2 separate regions of the Homo sapiens genome follow, and region 1 is linked to region 2. Evidence: promoter capture Hi-C in 16 types of primary human blood cells and fetal thymus (Javierre and others, 2016). All regions are on one chromosome and are shown on one strand. Each heading gives the region's core, a stretch centred on a gene start or on the middle of the fragment in contact. The rest is flanking DNA. Distances are from core to core; before and after follow the strand shown.

Region 1 (4,008 bases), core at 512-3,011, 210 kb before region 2:
AGACCAAATGCGAGCATATCTTCACTGACGGGGTTTCAGAGCCTCACTTTGCAAGTTTTGAGGCAGAGGCTCAAACTAATTTTGCTGAGAAGGACAGGAGAGCTGAGAGAAAATCAAACAGAACGGCGGCTCTCCTCCCATTCATGGCATGTAATGCTCTGGGCCCAGCTACATCTGCCATGGCCTCCAGGGACCTGCTGGAGGGGTCTCCCAGCCCCACCTGGTATAAGCCAAGCCTGCTCCAGACTCAGGATCTGCCCAGAGGGCTGGGATCTCACAGCCTGAGGTAAGCATGAGTCAGTCTGAATGTAATCTACCCTCCCTACACCCCTTCCCAGCCCCAGCCTCTCTGAGGGGTCTCATAGCCACCCAGCCTGCCTGTGACCTTTGCTGGCTATAGCTTTTCTTCCCATTAACTTTTTTTGTTTTGTTTTTGAGATGGAGTTTCACTCTGTCGCCCAGGCTGGAGTGCAATGGCGCGATGTTGGCTCACTGTAATCTCTGCTTTCCAAGTGCAAGCAGTTCTTCCCCCTCAGCCTTCCAAGTAGCTGGGACCACAGGCACCCACCACCATGCCCGGCTAATTTTGGTGTTTTTAGTAGAGACAGAGTTTCACCACGTTGGCCAGGCTGGTCTCGAACTCCTGACCTCAGGTGATGCGCCCGCTTCGACCTCCCAAAGTGCTGGGATTACAGGCGTGAGCCACCATGCCCGGCCCCCATTAACTTTTAATAATAAAACATGGTGGCCAGGCGCGGTGGCTCACGCCTGTAATCCCAGCACTTTGGGAGGCTGAGGTGGGCAGATCACGAAGTCAGCAGATGGAGACCATCCAGGCTAACACGGTGAAACACCCCGTCTCTACTAAAAATACAAAAAAATTAGCCGGGCGTGGTGGCGGACGCCGGTAGTCCCAGCTACTCCGGAGGCCGAGACAGGAGAATGGTGTGCACCTGAGAGGCGGAGCTTGTGGTGAGCCGAGATTGCACCGCTGCACTCCAGCCTGGGCGACAGAGCAATACTTCATCTCAAATAATAAAATAATAATAATAATAATAAAAACATGCTGCCTGATTACAGGAACTTAAACTTGTTTTGTTTACCCAAGCTGACATGTAAAAGTTACTAATAACTTCTTTGTCTAGGCAAGTTAGCAAATGACTTTGTAAGCACTGAGCAGCTCCCCTTAACTGTTTAAGTGGGAAGCCAGCCGTCGCCTACCCCAGGCAGGGGAGGCAGGACTTCTCCAGTGGCTCAGGGGAGACTGCCCTTCTTTGCCAGTTTTGGTTTGCAGACAGGTCACTGAAAGGTGGGGCCAAAAAGCTTCTGTGAAGCAAAGAAATTTGAGACCCTAGTCCCTTTCTTTTGGAGATCTAATGTCCTTAGAACCTCTGTGATGAACAGAGGCTCTAGCTGAAGTCCACTGACGGGGAAAGGCACCAAAGGGCCCGAGGGAAGCCCATCATGACTGAAGAGGAAATAGAACAAGTGACCCTGTGTCTTAGTCAGCTTGCACTGCCATTGCAAAACACCACGGACTGAATGGCTTAAACAAAAAAAAAACATTTCTTTCTCACAGTTCTGGAGGCTAGGAAGCCCAAGGTGAAGGTACCGGCAGATCCAGTGTCTGGGGAGGGCTCACTTCCTGGTTTACAGACAGCCACCTTCTTGCTGTGTCCTCACGTGGATGAGAGAGCACACTCTGGCCTCCTTCTCTTCCAACAAGGGCACAAATCCTATCGTGGGGACCCCACCCTCACAACCTCATCTAAATGTAATTATCTCCCAAAGGCCCCACCTCCAAATATCATCACACTGTGGAGTAGGGCTTCCACCTATGAATCCGGGGTGGGGAGGACAGAAACATTCAGTCCCTAGAATCCTGTATCAGTGCTAAGGCCTGGTAGGGTTTGTGAGGGAAGCCGCGTTTGGCACAGGCTGAAGGTGCCCCCTCACCAGATAGAGGCTGAGAAGATGTGCTTTGAGGACCTCTGCTGAGCAGGGCTATGAACTGAAGTGTTTTTTCCTCTGGAGCCCGAGGACACGGTGCAGTTGCTCAGCAGCACTAAGGAGGGACTGGGTGTGCCCTGAGCAAGCTGTCATTGGGGGTTAAAGACTGAAACTGTCACAGCCTAGGTGCCTAGTGGCTTCCGGGACAGAGCTAAGCAGGGCACAACAGGGGTAGACGGTCTGTTCCATTAAGCTTTTGAAGCTCGTTGTCTGAGGTAATACCCAAGGTTCATCGTCTCATGCCAAGGAAATTGAGGATGCAGGCACACACGACGAGTGAGTTTAAGAGCAGAGGTTTAATAGGCAAGAGAAAGAAAAGCTCTCTCTCCTGCAGAGAGGGAGGGGCTCCCAAGTCGGTCTTCTGGCTCCGAGGTGAAATGCACTGGGTGTTATAGGTGAGCTTGAGGAGGCAGTGTCTGATTTGGAGGTTTTGCCTTGTTTTGTTTTGTTTTGTTTTTGAGACAGAGTTTCGCTCTTGTTGCCCAGGCTGGAGTGCAGTGGCACGATCTCGGCTCACCGCAACCTCTGCCTCCCAGGTTCAAGGGATTCTCCTGCCTCAGCCTCCCGAGTAGCTGGAATTACAGGCATGCACACCACGCCCGGCTAATTTTTGTATTTTTAGTAGAGACGGGGTTTCACCATGTTGGTCAGGCTGGTCTCAAACTCCTGACATCAGGTGATCCACCCGGCTCAGCCTCCCAAAGTGCTGGGATTATAGGCGAGAGCCGCCGCACCCACCCGGCCAGGCAGTGTCTGATTTACACAGAGCCCAAAAGATTGCGGGACCAGGTATGCCATTTACATAGTGCAAGAAGAAGCTGGCCGCCCCACCCTAATCTTTTATTATGCAAATGGATTCTCTACCTGGTTGGCATCATGTTGCTGCTTCCTTTACTGTACAGGTGGTTGATAAGGAAAAGGGAAGATGAAGCCTCCATGTTGAACATGCCTGGCCCCAGGTAGCCTTTTCCGATTGGCACGGCTGCCGCCATTCACCCGTTCAAGCTTCCAGCTTGCCTGTCAATGTCTGCAGCTCGATTTTACAGGCTGCTCTTTGTTAGAAAAGAAATGATGTGGGGGCTGCTTTTTGTTAAAAGGGATGCCTTACCGAGGACTCTCTTACCCTCACCAACTGCCTAAGTAATTTCTTTTTAGCTCCCGTATTACTGCATCAAACTATAGCCAGATCCACGGTGACTACAGCGCAGCCACGGCAGGGGTGGCCTCTGGCTGAGCGGGACTTGTTTGCAGCAGCAGCATCTGGTGGCAATCGCAGAAATAAGAAGGCAGTCGAGGCCGGGCACAGTGGCTCATTGCTCATTGCTTGAACCCAGCAGGCAGAGGTTGAAGTGAGCCAAGATCGCGCCACCGCACTCCAGCCTGGGCAACAGAGTGAGACTCCGTCTCAAAAAAAAAAAAAAAAAAAAAAGAATTTCGGCATTTGAGAAAAGGCTTAAGAATCTGGCATTGAACAGGCTATCCAGCCCAAAAGGGACCTCACCTGCTTTGTTGATTGTTGAATGGCCCAACTACATCTGGTTGCAGTGGCAAACGGCTGACCTCCACGAGCAGCTGAAAGTGCCTCCTGCAAGTGACCGACTCATCCAGGCCTTGGACCGAGAAAACAGCTCCTCAACTGCATCAGCTGGACCATGGTACAGACCAGAGACAGGGCAAGAAAAGAAGCAGAGGCTATTGGCCCGTGCAGAGAAGAAAGCTGCCGGCAAAGGGGGCATCTCCATGAAGACCCCAACTGTCCCACGAGCAGGGTTAACCCCGACAGCACCTTGGTGGAGAACAAGAAGCCTCAGCTGGTGGTGACTGCACGTGACTCTCGTCGAGCTTGCTGTCTCTCTGTCTGCGCTGTGTCCTACAGTGGGGTTCCCTTACTGCGTTATCCAGGGGAAGGCAGGACGGAGATGCCTGGTCTGCAGGAAGACCCCAGAAAAGACTGTCACCTTCACACAGGCTCACTGGGAAGACAAAGCAGCTCTGGCT
Region 2 (3,910 bases), core at 642-3,141:
GGACTCCCCCCACCCCCGCCCACCCACGTTCGGGCGGGCGGGCGGGGCTGACGCCGAAACAGAAGCCTGTGCTGTGGGGCCTCGGAAAGGGGCTGGGCCAGCGCCGGGGCCAGGCTCGAGAAAGGCTGCGCGAAGTGTGCACTGGGACGTGGAGTAGAAGGCAGGCGGGAGGGCGGGCAGGGTGCAAGGATGCTTGGCCCACCCTGAGAGGCGTAATTCGCCCATCAACATTGCTGTCAGGCATCTTTTTAGCACTAGACGTGACCCCGGGGGTGGGGGCAGATGAACGGAACGCAACCCAGCTCAAAGGATGGGAAGTTGTGGGGGAGGTGAGGATAGTCTTTTTTTTTTTTTTTGAGACGGAGTCTCACTCTGTCGCCCAGGCTAGAGTGCAGGGGCGCGATCTCGGCTCACTGCAACCCCCGCCTCCCGGGTTCAAGCGATTCTCCTGTCTCAGCCTCCCCTGAGTAGCTGGGACTACAGGCGTGCGCCACCACCCCCGGCTAATTTTTTGTATTTTTAGTAGAGACGGGGTTTCACCATGTTGGCCAGGACGGTCTCGATCTCCTGACCTCGTGATCCGCCTGCCTCGGCCTCCCAAAGTGTTGGGATTACAGGCGTGAGCCACCGCGCCCGGCCAAAGATAGTGTCGTTCATTTCTTAATTCCCTCCTCTTCAGGCTACGACTGGCAAAGATGAGGGAGGCTGAAGCGGCCCAGGGGCAGGCAGGTAAAGAATACACCCACCCCACCCCCCAGGCCCAACACCTGAACTCTGGGCTTCTGGTCCACGGTGACCTCTCTCCCTAGTGCCCAGCTGCATTCATTCCGTTATTTAACAAATGCGTATTGGGCGCATGCGACGTGCCAGGCCCTGGCAAGGCATAGGTGCTGGCGCAGTGCCCGCGGCGCGCACGTTCCCACCCAGGCTCGGAGCGCGAGGTCCCCAGGTGGGCCCCAACCGCCGGATCCTGCCCTTCTGCACTGGGGCCCAGCCGCCTCCCGGCCTTTCCTCCCTCCCCCAGGAGATGAGACGTATCTTGACATCTTCCGCGACTTCTCCCTCATGGCGTCAGACGACCCGGAGAAGCTGAGCCGTCGCAGTCATGACCTCCACACGCTGTGACCCGAGGCCCACGGGGCCCGCGCCTGCCTCCCTTCCCCGCCACCGGGCCCTCTGCCATTAAAGCCTCCGTGCTTCGCTCTTCCCTTCTGGTTCACTTCTTGGGCGCCACCTTCGGGCCCGTAGGGTGTTGGGCGCTGCGGCTCCCGAGGTGCGGGGAGCAGCTGGGGGTTTGCGAGCTCCAGTCCAGCAAGGTGCGACTCCGGGGAGCGAGGCGGCAGCTTCGGCCGCGGCCTGAGCGCAGGGCGCTGCGGGGCGGGGGCTCTCGGGCTGGGGCGACGTGGCCAGCCCAGTCCTGCCGAGGGGTGGGGCTGGCCCTGGGGCTCGCTGGCCCCGCGCCGCCGCGGAGAGAGCGCGCCCGGGCCACCCCGGCTGGAAGGCATCCCCGGAATGCGGCGGCTCAGCACCCGCCCCCTCGGGAATTCCCCGGGGGAGCCGCTGGGAGGGACTCGGCTCCCGGGCTGGGCCGGCCGGGCCTCGGGCTCTGAGCGGTGGGATTAGAGGCTCCAGCCCCGCCGACTTGCAGACGTGAGATCGGGCACACCTGAGCGGCGGCGGGGCGGTCGTGGCCACATCCGGGGCGACGTGCCTGAGTCACCCCGTCCCGCCAGCGTCTGCCAGTCCAGCCAGTCCGCCCAGTCTCTCGCGTCCGAGACTCGCCTCCAGCCTCCCACCTCCGCCCGGGCCGCGCGAGCCTCGCGGGGGCGGGGGCGGGGCGCCAAGGGGCGGGGCTGTCTCTTAAAGGGCCCCGGGCCGCTGCCCTTAGGCCACTTCCTGGGGGCGGAGAGGACCTCAGCGGCTGCGGCGACACCCAGGGAAGGCGGCGCGGCCGGGTCCCGAAACTCCTGGCTGTTTCCATCAGAGCCCTCGGACACTCCCAGCCCGGGCTGAGCACGCATCGTCGCTCCCCGGCGGATACAAGGGGGCTCCGCCATCCGCTCCCGTCAGTTCGGCCTCCATCTCCTGGGACCCGCGCCGGCAGCCAGGCCAGGCCTCTGAGTGGCCCCAGAGCCCTGGCTGGACTCGTCCACGGCGGCAGCGATCTGCCCGGGGTCTCGGAGGCCATCCCTTCAGAGTCGGCCCTGTGCTCGCCACCGTCACCTGCTGGTTGGATTCCGGAAACCCACTGTCTGAAGACCACAGAGGGGTGTCGCTGACCACCCCAAATCGGATACGTCCAGACCTCAAGCTCCCTTCCCCTCTCTGGCTGCCCTCTGCTCTTTTCATCTCTTCTCTCAACCTTTTGGGGATTTCTGTGTCCTGACACCACCTCCCCATCCACCACCAAAGTAGCCGGGGTGAGCCCCAAACCTTACTGGGTGTGCTCCACCTGTGCCTCCAACCCAGCGAATCTGACAGCTTCGACCCAATTCTGCACACACCCAGGAAGTTCTGCCTTTTCTTTTCTTTCGGTGTCTCCTGTACTTCCCAAAATTTCTCCTCCTCCTGTGCCCTCTTCGCCCCCCTCCTTTGGGGGCCCCGTGACCCTGAATGTGGGGGGCACACTATATTCCACCACTTTGGAGACCCTGACCCGCTTCCCAGACTCTATGCTGGGGGCCATGTTTAGGGCCGGCACCCCCATGCCCCCCAACCTCAATTCCCAAGGAGGCGGCCACTACTTCATCGACCGGGATGGCAAGGCCTTCCGGCACATCCTCAATTTCCTGAGGCTGGGCCGCCTGGACCTGCCCCGTGGGTACGGAGAGACAGCGCTGCTCAGGGCAGAGGCTGACTTCTACCAGATCCGGCCCCTCCTGGACGCGCTGCGGGAACTGGAGGCCTCTCAGGGGACCCCTGCACCCACAGCTGCCCTGCTCCACGCAGATGTAGATGTCAGCCCCCGCCTGGTGCACTTCTCTGCTCGCCGGGGACCCCATCACTATGAGCTGAGCTCCGTCCAGGTGGACACCTTCCGAGCCAACCTTTTCTGCACCGACTCTGAGTGTCTAGGTGCTTTGCGGGCCCGATTTGGTGTGGCCAGTGGGGATAGGGCAGAGGGGAGCCCACATTTTCATCTGGAGTGGGCCCCCCGCCCCGTGGAACTCCCCGAGGTGGAGTATGGGAGACTGGGGCTGCAGCCGCTGTGGACTGGGGGGCCAGGAGAGCGGCGGGAGGTGGTGGGCACCCCAAGCTTCCTGGAGGAGGTGCTGCGGGTGGCTCTCGAGCACGGCTTCCGACTAGACTCTGTCTTCCCCGACCCCGAAGACCTGCTCAACTCCAGGTCTCTGCGCTTTGTCCGGCACTGAGGATGCTGTTCTCAGTTTGACTGTGGGGAGGAGAGAGAATGGGGTACTAGCACCCCTGAAGCCTCTTTCCAGCTCTGCTTCAGGAGCTATGAGAGTCGGGACTCTCCTGCACCTGACTGGAGCTCAGATGTGGGCAGGAATTCCCAAACCTGAGCCCACCAAGGACTCACAAGTGGTCCAGAAGGTCTCAACCTGTGCTGACCCTGGGAGGGGTAGGGAAGGTTCTCTCAGCTTGTTCTTGCCTAAGGCTGAGCACCTCCAGTCTCTCCTTGATTTGGAGCTCAGTGTTTAAGGGCTTGGAAAAGGGGGGAACATCTCTTTACCCAGACTAGACCTAGCAAAACCCTGGAAGGATATTGAGGTCTGGGGAAAAGGGAGGACTTTGCATTTTCCCAATGCGGTCTCTTGGACCATGGCTTCTACTCCTGAAGCTGGGTGGCCTGGCCTGGCCTGACCAATGAGAGGCCAGAACACTCTGGAACATCGGAAGAGGAGTTCTTTGCTATGTTCCAAGCCATCTACTGAGGGAGGCAGAAAGG

What was found. The method cuts DNA at HindIII sites, captures the fragments that hold promoters and counts their contacts. A CHiCAGO score of 5 or more calls a contact.
Region 1: a fragment that was not itself captured here is called in contact with the fragment with the promoter of KCTD11 in region 2 in 3 of 17 cell types (M0 macrophages, M2 macrophages and naive B cells); the score reaches 8.1 in M0 macrophages.

The regions. Positions count from the first base shown.
Region 1 is chr17:7,137,513-7,141,520 of GRCh38, forward strand. It overlaps LOC105371512 (a long non-coding RNA gene), which reads left to right. Exons shown (of 3, transcript XR_934191.3): 2 at 1-286; 3 at 3,166-3,251. It also overlaps the pseudogene RPL7AP64. Among named protein-coding and RNA genes, the nearest start is that of ASGR2, 25 kb to the left of the region's middle. The HindIII fragment of the contact is 880 bases long and covers 1,322-2,201 here.
Region 2 is chr17:7,350,271-7,354,180 of GRCh38, forward strand. KCTD11 (potassium channel tetramerization domain containing 11) reads left to right here and starts at 1,892. Exons shown (of 1, transcript NM_001363642.1): 1 at 1,892-3,910. The coding sequence starts at 2,556. The coding sequence ends at 3,371. It overlaps ACAP1 (ArfGAP with coiled-coil, ankyrin repeat and PH domains 1), which reads left to right. Exons shown (of 22, transcript NM_014716.4): 21 at 680-729; 22 at 1,025-1,207. The coding sequence ends at 1,125. RefSeq lists silencers at 1-80, 961-1,020, 1,091-1,150, 1,201-1,970. The HindIII fragment of the contact is 3,784 bases long and covers 1-3,254 here.